Linked DNA regions of Homo sapiens: regions 1 and 3 are each linked to region 2. The links are contacts of gene promoters, found by promoter capture Hi-C in blood cells and fetal thymus (Javierre and others, 2016). All regions are on one chromosome and are shown on one strand. Each heading gives the region's core, a stretch centred on a gene start or on the middle of the fragment in contact. The rest is flanking DNA. Distances are from core to core; before and after follow the strand shown.

What was found. The method cuts DNA at HindIII sites, captures the fragments that hold promoters and counts their contacts. A CHiCAGO score of 5 or more calls a contact.
Region 1: a fragment that was not itself captured here is called in contact with the fragment with the promoter of COL1A2 in region 2 in 3 of 17 cell types (fetal thymus, M2 macrophages and total B cells); the score reaches 7.9 in fetal thymus.
Region 3: a fragment that was not itself captured here is called in contact with the fragment with the promoter of COL1A2 in region 2 in 1 of 17 cell types (megakaryocytes); the score reaches 5.5 in megakaryocytes.

What each region holds. Positions count from the first base shown.
Region 1 is chr7:93,439,575-93,444,245 of GRCh38, reverse strand. It overlaps CALCR (calcitonin receptor), which reads left to right. Exons shown (of 14, transcript NM_001742.4): 9 at 489-642. Among named protein-coding and RNA genes, the nearest start is that of MIR653, 41 kb to the left of the region's middle. The HindIII fragment of the contact is 1,743 bases long and covers 1,567-3,309 here.
Region 2 is chr7:94,392,260-94,396,537 of GRCh38, reverse strand. It overlaps COL1A2 (collagen type I alpha 2 chain), which reads right to left and starts at 1,643. Exons shown (of 52, transcript NM_000089.4): 1 at 1,437-1,643. The coding sequence starts at 1,506. The HindIII fragment of the contact is 15,634 bases long and covers 847-4,278 here.
Region 3 is chr7:93,876,769-93,881,348 of GRCh38, reverse strand. No RefSeq gene overlaps it. Among named protein-coding and RNA genes, the nearest start is that of TFPI2, 12 kb to the left of the region's middle. The HindIII fragment of the contact is 6,841 bases long and covers 1-4,580 here.

The sequences.
Region 1 (4,671 bases), core at 1,189-3,688, 950 kb after region 2:
GCGTATCTCCTGGGTTTATATATGAAATTTATCACCTGACTCTCTCCTCTTTACTGCTAAAGGAACATCATCAACAAATCAGTGAATTTCAGAAGCAGCATTAAAAATATCTGCGTTATTTGCTTCACTGGCCATAGAAAAGGGGCCATAAAAGTCATGCATCAAATCCTTAGATGGTGCCTAAGATTATGAGTCTGACAAATTGCAGGAAAATGAACCCATCTGTGTAAGTCCGCAGAATGCAACAAGGAAGAACATTTTGTGGACTAGTTTTCCACTGGCTTATTTGGCTATTTACATGTAATAGCAGTGATCTGTGCATTCACTCTGATTTGTGGGTATAGCAGGTGGCACATGTTTACAGATGCTTGGGAAACTGCCTTGCAAGCTGAATGCAGATACTTTGGCTTGTTTTCACATTTGCTCTGTGCTCCCTGGCAGATCTTTACCTGTGTCTTTCTCTGAGTATCTTCCTTTCTTTCTGACAGGTGAGCTGCAAGATTTTGCATTTTTTCCACCAGTACATGATGGCCTGCAACTATTTCTGGATGCTCTGTGAAGGGATCTATCTTCATACACTCATTGTCGTGGCTGTGTTTACTGAGAAGCAACGCTTGCGGTGGTATTATCTCTTGGGCTGGGGTATGTATTTTCTGCAGCTAAGTTTTGAGTCACTTTCACCTCTGTCTGTATGCTTTCAGTCTTCTTCTAGTCTTGGTCTCAGAGAATAGAGTCAAGTCCCAGGTCCTTCAAGGAATGATGGAACACAGGTACTGGCAGGAGTTCAGTCTCCAAAAGACCTGTGGAAGCCCTTTAACAATCTCAACTGTGCTGAACATGAGGGTCTGCACAGAGAAGGAAGATAAGGGTGACTTCCAAAGGGTAACTTCAGGAAACAAACCTAGCTAATGATGGACACAAAATGTGTCCTGATTGAGAGAAGATCTGATTAGGCCTCCTTCTGCTTTATTCATCACATGTTTGTAGAGCAAAGGAGAATTTCACATTTTGAATTATGTACCTCCCCTACCCTGGCTTCATTTTCCTTCATCAAGAACATTTCTTCCTGTCAATCCATCATCAGGATTCCTCCAGTGAAAGCTCAGGAAGTGGAGTCCAGCTGAGAGGCAGATATAACCACACGGGCTTCCAAGTAGAGCCTGTGTGACATCATAGCACATGGCATTGGCTCGGGAAAGCTTAGGGCTGGATTGTTTAAGCTGTGGCTGCTTCCGTACAAACTAAGGCAGGGTGCTGAAGTCCTTCAGGGATGCTCTAGAATTGCTCCCTTTCCCCCAGGGCTGCTGAAAGTCCAGCTCCCCCTGGTGGAAGGGAACTGAACAGAAGGTGAGGCAATGAAAGAAAATAAATGCTGCGATAAAAACACATGCTGCCTTATCAAAAAAAAAGTTTCAGCCTTACCTTGAAACTTCCATACCAGAGGAGGAACTCGTGGGCCATCCCTCACTGACTATAGAGCCAAGGGCTTCTCTCACCACATCCACCCCACATGATGGGTGACTGTGACTCTGAGAGCAGAGGCTGTGGATGGCCTTCAACTAAGCTTGCCCTTTAATGCAGCAGGCTGGGGAGCCCCTACAAGTACTGGTAAGAGAGGAGAGGTGTAGTGAGGAGGGAGGACAATCCAAGGGATTTTTTAAAAACATCACCTTTTGTATTTAAAGCCCTGCCCAACAGGCATTGTCGCCAACTTTATAGAAATGTGCTTGGGAAGTCATATAAGCAGCCTAGAGTCTTTCCTGCAGTCTGTAAACTGCAGAAAGGGGCTGGTGTTATGCCATACTGGTTTCCATAACACCCTTACATAACAGGGGTACATGGTTTTAACCAAATGCATTGCCCAAGCCCAATGGGATAATCCGATAATGGTGGGTCAATGGGGCAGATAGGCGGGATGCCTCAAAATTGAATTGATGATGCTACAATTATTTGGTTGCAAGCAACAGAGTAAGATGTTCTAACTTAAGCAAATACAGAGAAGTTGTCAGAATCTAGCGTATCTCATGGAATCTAAGGGCAGAAATATAGCCAGGCAACTAAAAGGGCTGTAGCCTGGGAGCAGATAAGCCAGGAGCTCTCTCCCTCTGCCTTTTGTCTTTGTTTTTCCTTGCATATCTGTTTTTACCCTTCTCTTTCTTTACAGGCCATAGACCATAGGGTCTCTGCTCCCTCCAGTTTTCATAGTAAATACATCCTGCCCCAAAGTTTCCTGAGTACACATGTTTCTGTTCCAGGCACTCACAGAAACTAAATGCCCATCTTTAAGTTCCAATTCTGAATAGCAGGACAAGAAAATCTGATTGATCCAACTGAAGGCAGGTAGCCTACCCTGGTTCAATAAACTGTGGCCAAGAAAATTGAGGGGGATGTTGTCACATAGTGTGAACATGTCTAGTGATTGTGAACCCTCCAGCAAAGGACTGAGAAAGGGGTCTTTGTGAACTGTACAGGCTGTCTAGGATATTCACCAGATCACCTCATCTGCATGGCTGCTCCCTTATAAGGAGAGCAGCGCTGCACCCTGTTTCCTTAACCATCCAGTGAGGTTAGAAATCAGGCTATCACTATCCTGCTGGTTCCACATCAGGTAACAGGTTCTCCTGCTCTTTCCTGTCCTAAAACAGGTCAAAATTTACTCAAAATGGTCTTTTACTATTTTTTTTTTTCTCTTTTAGCCCCAGCCTTCCACAGAGACTAATCTTTCCTTTCCCTGGCCTTCTCATCCGTATGTACACCCTCTCAACAATTTCTAGATTTCCAAATCTGGTCATGCTAAGAATAGACTGGATACAATTTAATCACTGCAATGGCAATTCTGATCATCACAATCATAATAATTGGTGTTGATCAAATGCCTTCCAGTCAAAGACCTGAAAATAACATTCCACCCCAAACACACACACAAACACACACATACTTTCTGCCAGATTTATTTCCTTTGAAATAAAATCTGTGGTATATTTCTTTTACCAGTTTTGATTGTTCAAAACATCTATCTGCCATACTCAGAAAATTTTTCATGGGAAAAAAAGGCTGTAAATGTATTCTTGTCGGTGACATTCAGCAGAGACAAGGGCACCCTGGAAGGAACAATTTATACTGCTCTTGGAGTATACTGATGCATTGTGAATTAGTTATAAAACTTTTTGGCATCATCATAGACAGCTCAATGAAGATATCTGCTTAAAACACATAAACAATTCAAAGGAAAAAAGGAACAAGCTGCTCAGCTGTATCAAAAACAAAGGCAATAATAATAAGTAAATTGTTTATGTGATACCTTAAGCTTCTGTAATCAACAACAATTCGAATGATTCAAGTAGAATCCCAAAGAACATTACACTTAGTAACGTAAGCACAGAACGGGGAGTTGCTAATCAATGGTTATACAGATTAAGTAATGCAAGATGAGTAAATTTTAGGTATCTGCTGTACAACATTGTGCCTATAGGTAACAATTTTGTACTATGCACTTAAAAATCTGTTTAGAGGGCAGACCTGATGCTAATTGTTCTTGCCAGAATAATATAAAAATTTAAATTAAAAAAAGAACTAGAGGGATTTGCACTTCCGTAGATGGACTTTTGGAAAGATAGTCAACCAAATAGTTCTAAAATGTAATGTTTTTAGCATGCCAAAGCTAAGACTATCTTTCTACATGCACACACACACACACACAGACACACACACACCAAAATTCCACCAAACTCATTACCACTGAAAAATCACATTGCCAAATCTGAACTCTGAGAACAAAATTGACATATTTTAAAGCAGTGGCTCCTTTCTTAGAATTTTAAGCAAGCATTATCTTTGGATGGGAGGAAAATGGGTGAAATTAATACCAATTAATTTCTCAAGAAAAAAATAGTTTCACAGAAACTTTATAAAGTTTAATGGGGCAAGAGAATAAGTCTCTTCTGGATAATATTTTTATTGTCCTTTGAAAATTTTTTTCACATGAAGACAGTATGATAGGTTCTAAATTTTACAATGCCAGAAAAGAAGCAAAACCTACATACTTTTAAAAGATTCTTGAAAGTTAGACTGCAGAAAATATGGCCCAAAAAAGCCCAGTTGTATTATAGCACCTAATTTGTTTGCAGGTGATGTAAAGCCCATTCATTTAATTCAGCTGTGAATAATGTTTCCAATTCTAGGATTTGAAATGAATCTCAAAGAATGATAAGAGATATTGTAAACATTAGCCACTGGGTGAACAAGTATCTGGTGGTGAAATTCTCCCCAACAGAAAATCAAAGAATGGTTCTTTCAGTAGTTATTCCCTTCCAAGTCTGCATGGCACCACTTAGTAGTCGATTTCTCTCCAATTGAAGTAACTTCAAATACTGAAGTTTAGTTCTCAGGAAGATCACTTATTTTGCAGCCCTCTCCAGACTGTTTCTTTGCCTTGCCTTGCTGGTTTTCCCCTTGTTAGAAATCAAAGGAAGGAAATTTCCCCCATGGACTTCTATATTGAACAAATAGAATTTATTAAATCCCTCTTAAAAAATGAATCCTACACAGACAGGATTATTCTGAATCTCATCATCTTTGGTGGGAAGAATGGGTTGTTATGGATCTTGGGACCTTGGGGAGAGAGAAAGAAAAAAGAAAAAAAAACAGAAAAAGCAAACTACCTAAAAGGAG
Region 2 (4,278 bases), core at 394-2,893:
GCCTTTGTACCTTCAAATTTCCCTAAGTCTGCCTTCATTTTATTCTCTAGGAGCCGACTCTTTCCTCCCACTCTCAAGATCTCATTAAAAATATGAACTCGGTAATGTGAATTTGTTCACTGCAATTACTCCTTAGTATCCACAGTATGTATACTAAAAGTGAATGAAGGGGGAAGAGACACACAGACACACAGACACACACACACACACACACACACACACAAGCACACAAATGCATTAGAAATTATGCAGTGGTAGACACCGTGCTGTGTGGGTGGAACAACTTTTTGGAGTACTGGGTGTGGTCAGACAATACCATCCCCCATCTAGTCAATATCTTTGTCTAGCACTTTGGCAGCCATTTTCAAGATGAAAACGGACTGATCTTCTTCATTCTCTGTTGACATGAAAGTCTGGCCATGGAACCTAGAGCTGGAAAGTGGCCTTGGGGTCCCTTTAATCTCTGTCTCACATTTTAGAAAAGGCCGTTTGACTTGCCCAAAGTCACGCAGCAAATTGGTGTCAGACTCATGGGAAAAACCCCGGTCTCTTGAGTCTCATCTCAATGTTGATATTTCTCAACTTGCTGCGTTCATAATGTTTGCTTATCACTGGGAACATGTCAAAGGGGTAATTCTCAGGCTCAAACAAAATTTAGAGCAGATTTGAGTTAAAAAATGTTACCATTTCCATGACTAGAAAGTGAATTGAGACACTTATATTACTTTTCAGAATGTACCCACTCCAAGTAGCATCCATTCTTCTTTCCAGGGTTCACTGACTAGCCACTGGGAAAGGCTCCAACCAGAAATGCTGATCATTAATCTGTATAAATCCGTAGAAGCTTTAATTGGGATTCCATCTGCTTAAGGCCCTGTCCCCTGTACTTTCATTTTCCTTCCTCCAGAGGGCGCCTTATAACCATCATCATATCAGCATCGTCATCCTCCTCCTCCGGACAAGCCTTACAATGCCCAGAAGATAAAAGCTCTTAGGAGGTGAGTTTTACATTACTCAGTTGAAGGGCTTTCTAACGCAGGCCTCAAGTTTTACAAGGTGGACATCAGTGCGGTTATGGGGCCTGTGGGGTGCAGGCCCTTGACTTCCTCCACCACATTGGTCGTTAATATCTCATCCTTAGGGAAAAAGACCTTCCGCTCCCTTTGGGGGTTACTAAGCTGAGGAGCCAGACCGAGTTAACTGTCTCACTCTGAACTTAGAGGAAAAGTTCCCTAACTTTTGGCAAGGCTTTTATGTTTTCATTTTTTAAAGTAATTTCCATGTTTCTTATCAATTCCGGCGTTTTCCCACATGCCTGAGAGTCTGCCCTCCAAGTGTACCTGGAATTCAGGTTACAGGTTTTCCTTTTCAGGGCAGGGTGCCCTCCCATCTAACCTCTCTACCCAGTCTCCCCCAAACAAGCTGAAGGCACTTACATTGGCATGTTGCTAGGCATAAGGTTACTGCAAGCAGCAACAAAGTCCGCGTATCCACAAAGCTGAGCATGTCTAGCACTTAGACATGCAGACTCCTTGTGTCGCAGAGCCCCTGGGTCACCGGCGGAGGTATCACCTGGCGGGCGCGGGCATGCAGTCGTGGCCAGTACCTCCAACTTAGCCGAAACCTCCTGCTGCCGTGGTGCTAAAATAATAAAGCCCGGATCTGCCCTATTTATACGGCAAAAGTTTCCCTGGCCCTAGGGTGCCTCCAAAAGGGCCTCCACCAATGGGAGGGCTGGGGCTGGGGGCCCGGGCAGCCACAGCTGGGAGGAGCCTGCGGGGGCGCAGAGGAGGGAGCGAATGGGGGAAGGGACGTGGCCACGGGGCTGGCTTCTTAAATTGGTTCCATTCTTTTTGAGGACGTGGACACTTTTGAGGCTTTCAAGGGGAAACTCTGACTCGTTGTCTGCATACCTCCGCCCTCCGCATCCTCCCGCCCTCCCCCGCCCTTTCCAAGTTTGGAAACACTATGGGACACGTCGGAGTGCTCTGCAGCCCCGACATGGGCAGAATTTGCAGATCTCCGGCGATCAAAGCAGGAGCTGTCCAGTCCCGCCTCACCTGTGCCCTGTAGGCCACTTGTAGGGTGGAGGGCTCCAGCGGGAGCGGAGGGGGCAGAGAAGGAGGGAGGGAAGACTCGATAGCGTGGCGCAGCCGGAGCCCGCCTCCCCGCCCCTCCACCCCTGCACCCCGCCCCCAGCCCCGTCCAGCTTTTCTCTAGCTTTGGGGCTCGTGTGCGCCCACTGTTTCAGCAGTGATGCACTCTCTTTGTCTTATGACTTCGGGAAAGGGCGGGTCCTGTCTGTGGAGGGCTGGGTTGCAGTCGGAGGGCGCCTTTTGTTGGCAGGTGGGCTGGGGAGCAGGCTCGAGGCTGCTTGGCACCCGGCTACAGGGAGGATAGGCTTTGCGAACTCTAGACTAGACCGAGTCACCTGGGGAAGTCCTTCGACCTCCTAGCTTGCCTTTGCTGAGGCTCATTCCAAAGAGGGTCTTTTGGGGGATGGTCTGGCACTCCGACACGACTCCAACCGACCTGGAGACCGAGAACTTATTTCTCAGTCTCTCCTTTCTGAGGCTGCGGTGGGGGATCTTTCATGGTTTCCAGTCTCCCCTCCCCTTCTCCATGGGCTCCTTGTCTGGATTTACCAGTTCTACCCTGAGCCTGGACCCTTCAACCCTCCCGTGAGCCCCCCGGTCCCTCTTGACCTTGCTGCTTACTCTCTGTCCCATCTCTTACAGCCACACCCAAGCACCTCCCCTAGCACATCCAGAGGCCCTTCTGATTCGAGCTTGGGGTCTTCGTAGTCTTCGCTGGTAACACCCCAAGCAGTGCGCCCACCAACGTGGATGTTAACTCTCTCCCCAGCACCCAACTTCCCTCTTCTCTGGCCGCCTCCATCCAACCCTCCACTCCCTACTAGGGAGAGGAGGAACTGGTACTTTGACCCTGAGGTGGGAGGCCAAAGGTCCTGTGCCTTTTTCTAAAGCCTCTTGGGATGGCATTCCAGGCCCTAGGTTTGAAAGGCTGTGTGTGTGTGTGTGCGCGCGCGCGCGTGTGCGTGTGTGTGTGTGTGTGTGTGTGTGTGTCAGGCCTCTCCTCTACTTGCCTAAGGTCCCCATGAGGCAGCGGGGGCCTAGTTAGAGTGCTGCTCTATCCCAGAAGTCATCGCAAAGGGGGCATCTTTAGGTCAGTTCTGTCTCTAAGAAACAGAAGCAAGTGGGCTGTAGTTCCCTGAGAATCTTTTTCCCTTCCTTCCCCCCACCCCCTCCCCGCTTTTTTTGCTTTGCCTTAAGGAAGAATTTCTGCAGAAGTTAACTCCATCAGCAGCTTCTGTAAATAAAAGGGACTATTCTAAAGCAGGTTACTCTTTCTAAATGTAAAAGAAGAAAAAAAGGTTAATGCAAGTAAAAGTGGATAACCAAAAACTATAATAAACTCTTGTTTTATTCTAATTAAAGGCACTCACTTGGGAGACCACTTTGGATGATTTTTTGAAGTAACTGGGAGTGAAAGAATTTGAAAGGGTTACTGGTCATTCCTAGAAGGGGGTTTACAGGGAGCAATCCACATTCAAATTTTTTTCTAACTAGGCAACAATGTTTGAAGTTTTCTAGGTTCTAGGAACAACAACAACAAAAGACCTGAGGTTGAATTGTATATTCCAAGAACATTTTTAACATTTCCCTGAAATATCACCGTTACAGAACTAACAAAAAACTTTTAAAGTGGAAATCATTTTTATCAGGAAAGAAAAACTTCAATACTACATCATAACAAATTTTTTTCTGCATATCAGAAGAGTGAGAAATGATTTCTAAGAATCATTGTTACCACTGTGCTGAATTACCTTTGCAGGGCATATGTGTGTATTTGTCCTGTGTTGCTGAGAGTCAGAGACTAATTCTGAGCAAAATGACTCAGGGTGGTAATGCAACAGATTTATGAAAGAAACCCTCCAAATACCCTTCAGTGAGGTTATCTGATAACGCTTCTGGGGTCAAGTTGGCTCAATCATTGGATTTGCAATAGATATCCCAAGTTTTAAACATTTCATTGTAGGTTTTGTTGTTGTTGTCAAAATAGTTTAAAACATAGAATGTTTTTAGAAGTGTGATTATAATTTCTCTTTTAGCCAAAAAAGAAAAATCCTCAGCAAGTTTTTGAGAATTAGAGGACTGTAAATTGAAGCAGACATCTATAAACTTAGAGGGAAAACGTCTCTGCTAAAGGCAGCAGAGTGAACTGATAACTTGAAAAGCATTCCTGGAAACTGATGCA
Region 3 (4,580 bases), core at 514-3,013, 520 kb after region 2:
CCTTTTAATCAACATTGTCTCATTTTTCTCCCCTTCCCTATCCCTGGTAACCACTACTCTACTGTTTCTATATATTCAACTGTTTTTTTTTCATTCCACACATAAGTGAGATTGTGCAGTATTTTTCTATCTGTATCTGGCTTATTTCACTTAGTATAGTACCCTCCAGATTCATACTTGTTGTTGCAAATGGCAGTATATCCTTTTATAAGACTGAATAATATTTTATTGTATATATACATGTGTATGTATATATGTGTAAGTGTATGCCTGTATGTGTATACATATCTCACAACTTCTTTATCTACTTATTCATGGATGGGCACTTAGATTGTTTTCCTATCTTGGCTATTGTGAATAATGCAGTGAACATGGGAGTGCAGATATCTTTCTGAAGTACTGACTTCATGTGTTTTGTGTATATCCCCAGAAGAGAGATTGCTTGGTCATATGGTGGTTCTATTTTCATTTTTTTGAGGAACATCCATATTATTTTCTACTATGTCTGTACCAATTTAAATTCCCAACAGTATACAAGGGTTCCCATTTCTTCACATCCTTCCAAACACCTCTTGACTTTCTGATAATAGCCATCCTAACAAGCATAAAGTGATATCTTTATTTATTATGGTTATTTTTTAATTAAAAATTTTTTTTAAAGTCCAGGGGTACAAGTGCAGGTTTGTTACATGGGTAAACTTGTGTCATGGGGGTTTGTGGTACAGATTATTTCATCACCCAGGTATTAAGCGTAGTACCCATTAGTTGTTTTTGCTGATCCTCCCCTTCCTCTGCCCTACATCCTCCAAAAGGCCCCAGTATGTGTTGTTCCCTCTGTGTGTCTATGCATTCTTATCATTTATCTCCCACTTATAAGTGAGAACGTGGTATTTGGGTTTCTGTTTCTGTGTTAGTTTGCTAAGGATAATGGCCTCCAGCTTCATCCACGTCCCTGGAAAGGACATGATCTCATCCTTTTTTTATGGCTGCATGGTATTCCATGGTGTATATGTACCATATTTTCTTTATCCAGTCTATCACTGATGGGCATTTAGGTTGATTCCATGTCTTTGCTATTGTGAATAGTGCTAAAGAGCTTCTGCACAGCAGAATTGATATCTTATAGTGGTTTTGATTTGCATTTCCCTCCATAGTTAATGATGTTAAGCACATTTTTATATTCTTGTTGGCTATTTTTATGTCTTCTTTGGAAAAATGTCTGTTTAGCTCTTTTGCCCATTTTTTACTAGGTTATTTGGTTTTTGTTTTTACTATAGCTTTGAGTTGTTACATATTTTGGATATTAACCCCATGAAGTATATGTTTCACAAATATTTTCTTCCCATCTGTAGGCTTACTTTTCATTTTGTTGATTGCTTCCTTTGCTGTGCAAAAACCTTTTAGTTTGATGTAGCACCACCTATTTATTTTTGCTTTTGTTGGTTAATCTTTTGGGTTGATGTTCAGGAAATTATTGCCAAGGCCAATAGCAACAAGATTTTCCCCTATGTTTTCTTCTACGAGTTTTTTGTTTGTTTGTTTCTGGCCTTATGTTTAGGTATTTAATCCATTTAGAGTTGATTCTGATGTATGGATATCCAGTTTTCTCAACTCCATTTATTGAAAAAAAAACTAATCTTTCCTCATCATTTCTTCTTGGTGGCCTTGTTGGAAATTAGTTGACCACATGTGCTTGGGTTTATTTCTGGGCTGCCTATTCTGTTCCACTGGTCTATGTGTGTGTTTCATGCCTATGCCATACTGTTTTGATTACTATTGCTTTGTTGTATAATTTGAAATAAGAACATGTGATGCCTCCAACTTTGTTGTTCTTGCCTTCATTAATAGATTTACTAACTGTATTTATAGTAATAAAAATCCTTTATTGTCTTTATATGTACCTGTGCCAACATACACAAATTAATGTAATATCCTATATTAAGGGAATAAAATATAAAAATTATATGATTATCTCAATAGATGCAGAAAAATACTTAACAAAGTTCAACATGTTTTCATGATACAAACTCTCAACAAAATACATATAGAAGAAAATTTCCTCAACATAACTAAAGCCATTTATAAAAAGCCAACTGCCAACATAATTTTCTTTGAAGTTTTAAAGACCATGGATCGATTTTTCTCTTTATGTAGCCTAATCTGATTTTTATATTCATATCTGTTAAGGCATACACAATAGAAATTATATGTTGACACTACCTTTAGAGTCCAGGCTCCTTAACCTATACATGCATTTGTAACTGTATCTTACCTGTTATTTGATGCTAAAAGATGGAAAGGTTTTCCTCTAAGATACAGTACAAGGCAAGGTACAAAGATGCCCACCCTCTGCACTTCTATTCAACAGTTCTATTAAAATTGCTGGAAATACTAGCAAGGACAATCAGATAAGAAAAATAAATAGAAGCCATCCAAATGCAAAAGGAAGCAAAATTATCTTTGTTTGCAGATGATATGATCCTCTGTGTAGAAAATCCTTAAAATGTCACAAAAATTGTTAGAACTAATGATCGAATTCAGTAAAGTAGCAGGACACAAAATCAACATCAAAAATCAGTTGCATTTATTTACATCAATAATGATCTATCTGTAAAAGAAATCAAGATGGTCAGACAGTTTTTATAAGATAATCTGTGGAAAATATGTAAAACTTCTTCTGATATTATACCATTCTTGTATTTGAATGATATGACCTATTTGTATATTATTTTTTAAATGCATTGCTAGATTTTGTTGGTTACATTTTAAGTATATTGAATCTATACTCATATATAACATTGTTAGATGTATTCACAGTGAACTGCAACTTTTATCATTATGTTCTTACTATTTGTTATATTTTTCTTTTTATTGAACTATCAAAGAAGTTTTCTACATTATTTTCATTTATGTATAAAATCATTTATATATAACATTTATACGTAAAATCATTTTTATATAAAAATATACATAATTTATGAATAAATGATCTTACATTATTTCTACATTCAAGTTGTTATTGAGATTTTCTTTGTGACTTCATGTAAGATCAATTTTCATGTCCTATTAAGAAGAAATGATATTGCTTTCATTGGAATATATATTTATTATTTATACATGTTAAGTTCAATTTTACACTTATTATTTAAAATATATATACATATATCCAAATATGTATATATCTGCCAGTGCTTGTTAAAGATTACAGACTTTATATTTGAATGTTGCATCAACATTTTTCTCTGTTGCATATTTTAGGACTATTTTCATCAAATTAAACAATTGAGTTTCACTTTCTTTTTCTTACACTAGTTATACGTAAATGTTGCCTGACTTTCTGTCCATTCTAAAGTGTCTTGGATTTTCCAGGATTAGCAACAACAAGCATTCCTATGGTGCATTATGAGGGGTTTCGGCAGCTTGCTAGGTTGCTTAGTTCAAGAGCACTCTCTTCTGAGGGTGCATGGAAGTACACTGCCTTTAATAAATGATGCCTTTTTTACGAGTTGATGTGTCTTCCACTTCTATTATTTTCTTTTTTAACTTTCTATGAGATCCTTACTTTTCACCACTTTATTTCTTCTTTCCATTCACTATCAAGTCTCTTTCCAAAGGATATCTACTTTTTTTAGGTTGCCTCACACTCCACCCTAAGCAATGCCTTCTCACAAGGTTGCCACCTCTCCGGTCCTGCAATTTTCATGCCTCTCCCACTTCCCCCAATTCCTCAATAGCCATTGCTTTGGTCCACCAGGCCACACACCTTAGTTGGAGTAAGGTCTTGTCTTATCCCAAAGAAAACACCAAAGAAAAAGAGTGTTTTCCTTGGGGTAACATTATCTGTGTTTCACCAAGTCTGGGACCCTACTGCATTCTCTTCTTTTTCACATAATTTTTATATTATTTCCTCAGTTATGTGTAAATAGAAGTCTATGTTTTCTCTTTTTCTTAGTTTTGCTCTATAAGTAACTTATGGGTGGTTTTATTAAGATCTCCTGATGAATCTGTATGGTTTGGAAAGTTACGTGAAAAGATTATTATTACTGTATATATACATTATTTTCTTAGGGAAATTGGAAGTCTCAAACAACGTGTTAAAATTTTCTTTGAAGTTTTAAAGACCATGGATTGATTTTTCTCTTTTTGTAACCTAATCTGATTTTATATTCATATCTCTTAAGGCATACAAAATAGAAATTATATGTTGACACTACCTTTAGAACCCAGGCTCCTTAACCTATGCATGCATTTGTAACTGTATCTTACCTGTTATTTGATGCTAAGACACAAACTGATATGGTTCTAGACTACAGTTTTTCAATAGAGGCCAGCTGCTTCCCTCTAAGTCTAAAATGGAGGTTAATCTCATATTAATCTTGCATCGTTTGCTTAGCCAGCTCTTTTGATATTTGATAATGAAGAGGTCTGCCCTCTGTTCTTAGCCATCCTCTCCTGGGAATTTTTTATCTGAATCACTGTACTATAATTCTCATGACAAATTGATATTATGCATTGCATATTAAAATTAATCTTTCAGCTGGGCGTGGTGGCTCAAGCCTGTAATCCCAGCACTTTGGGAG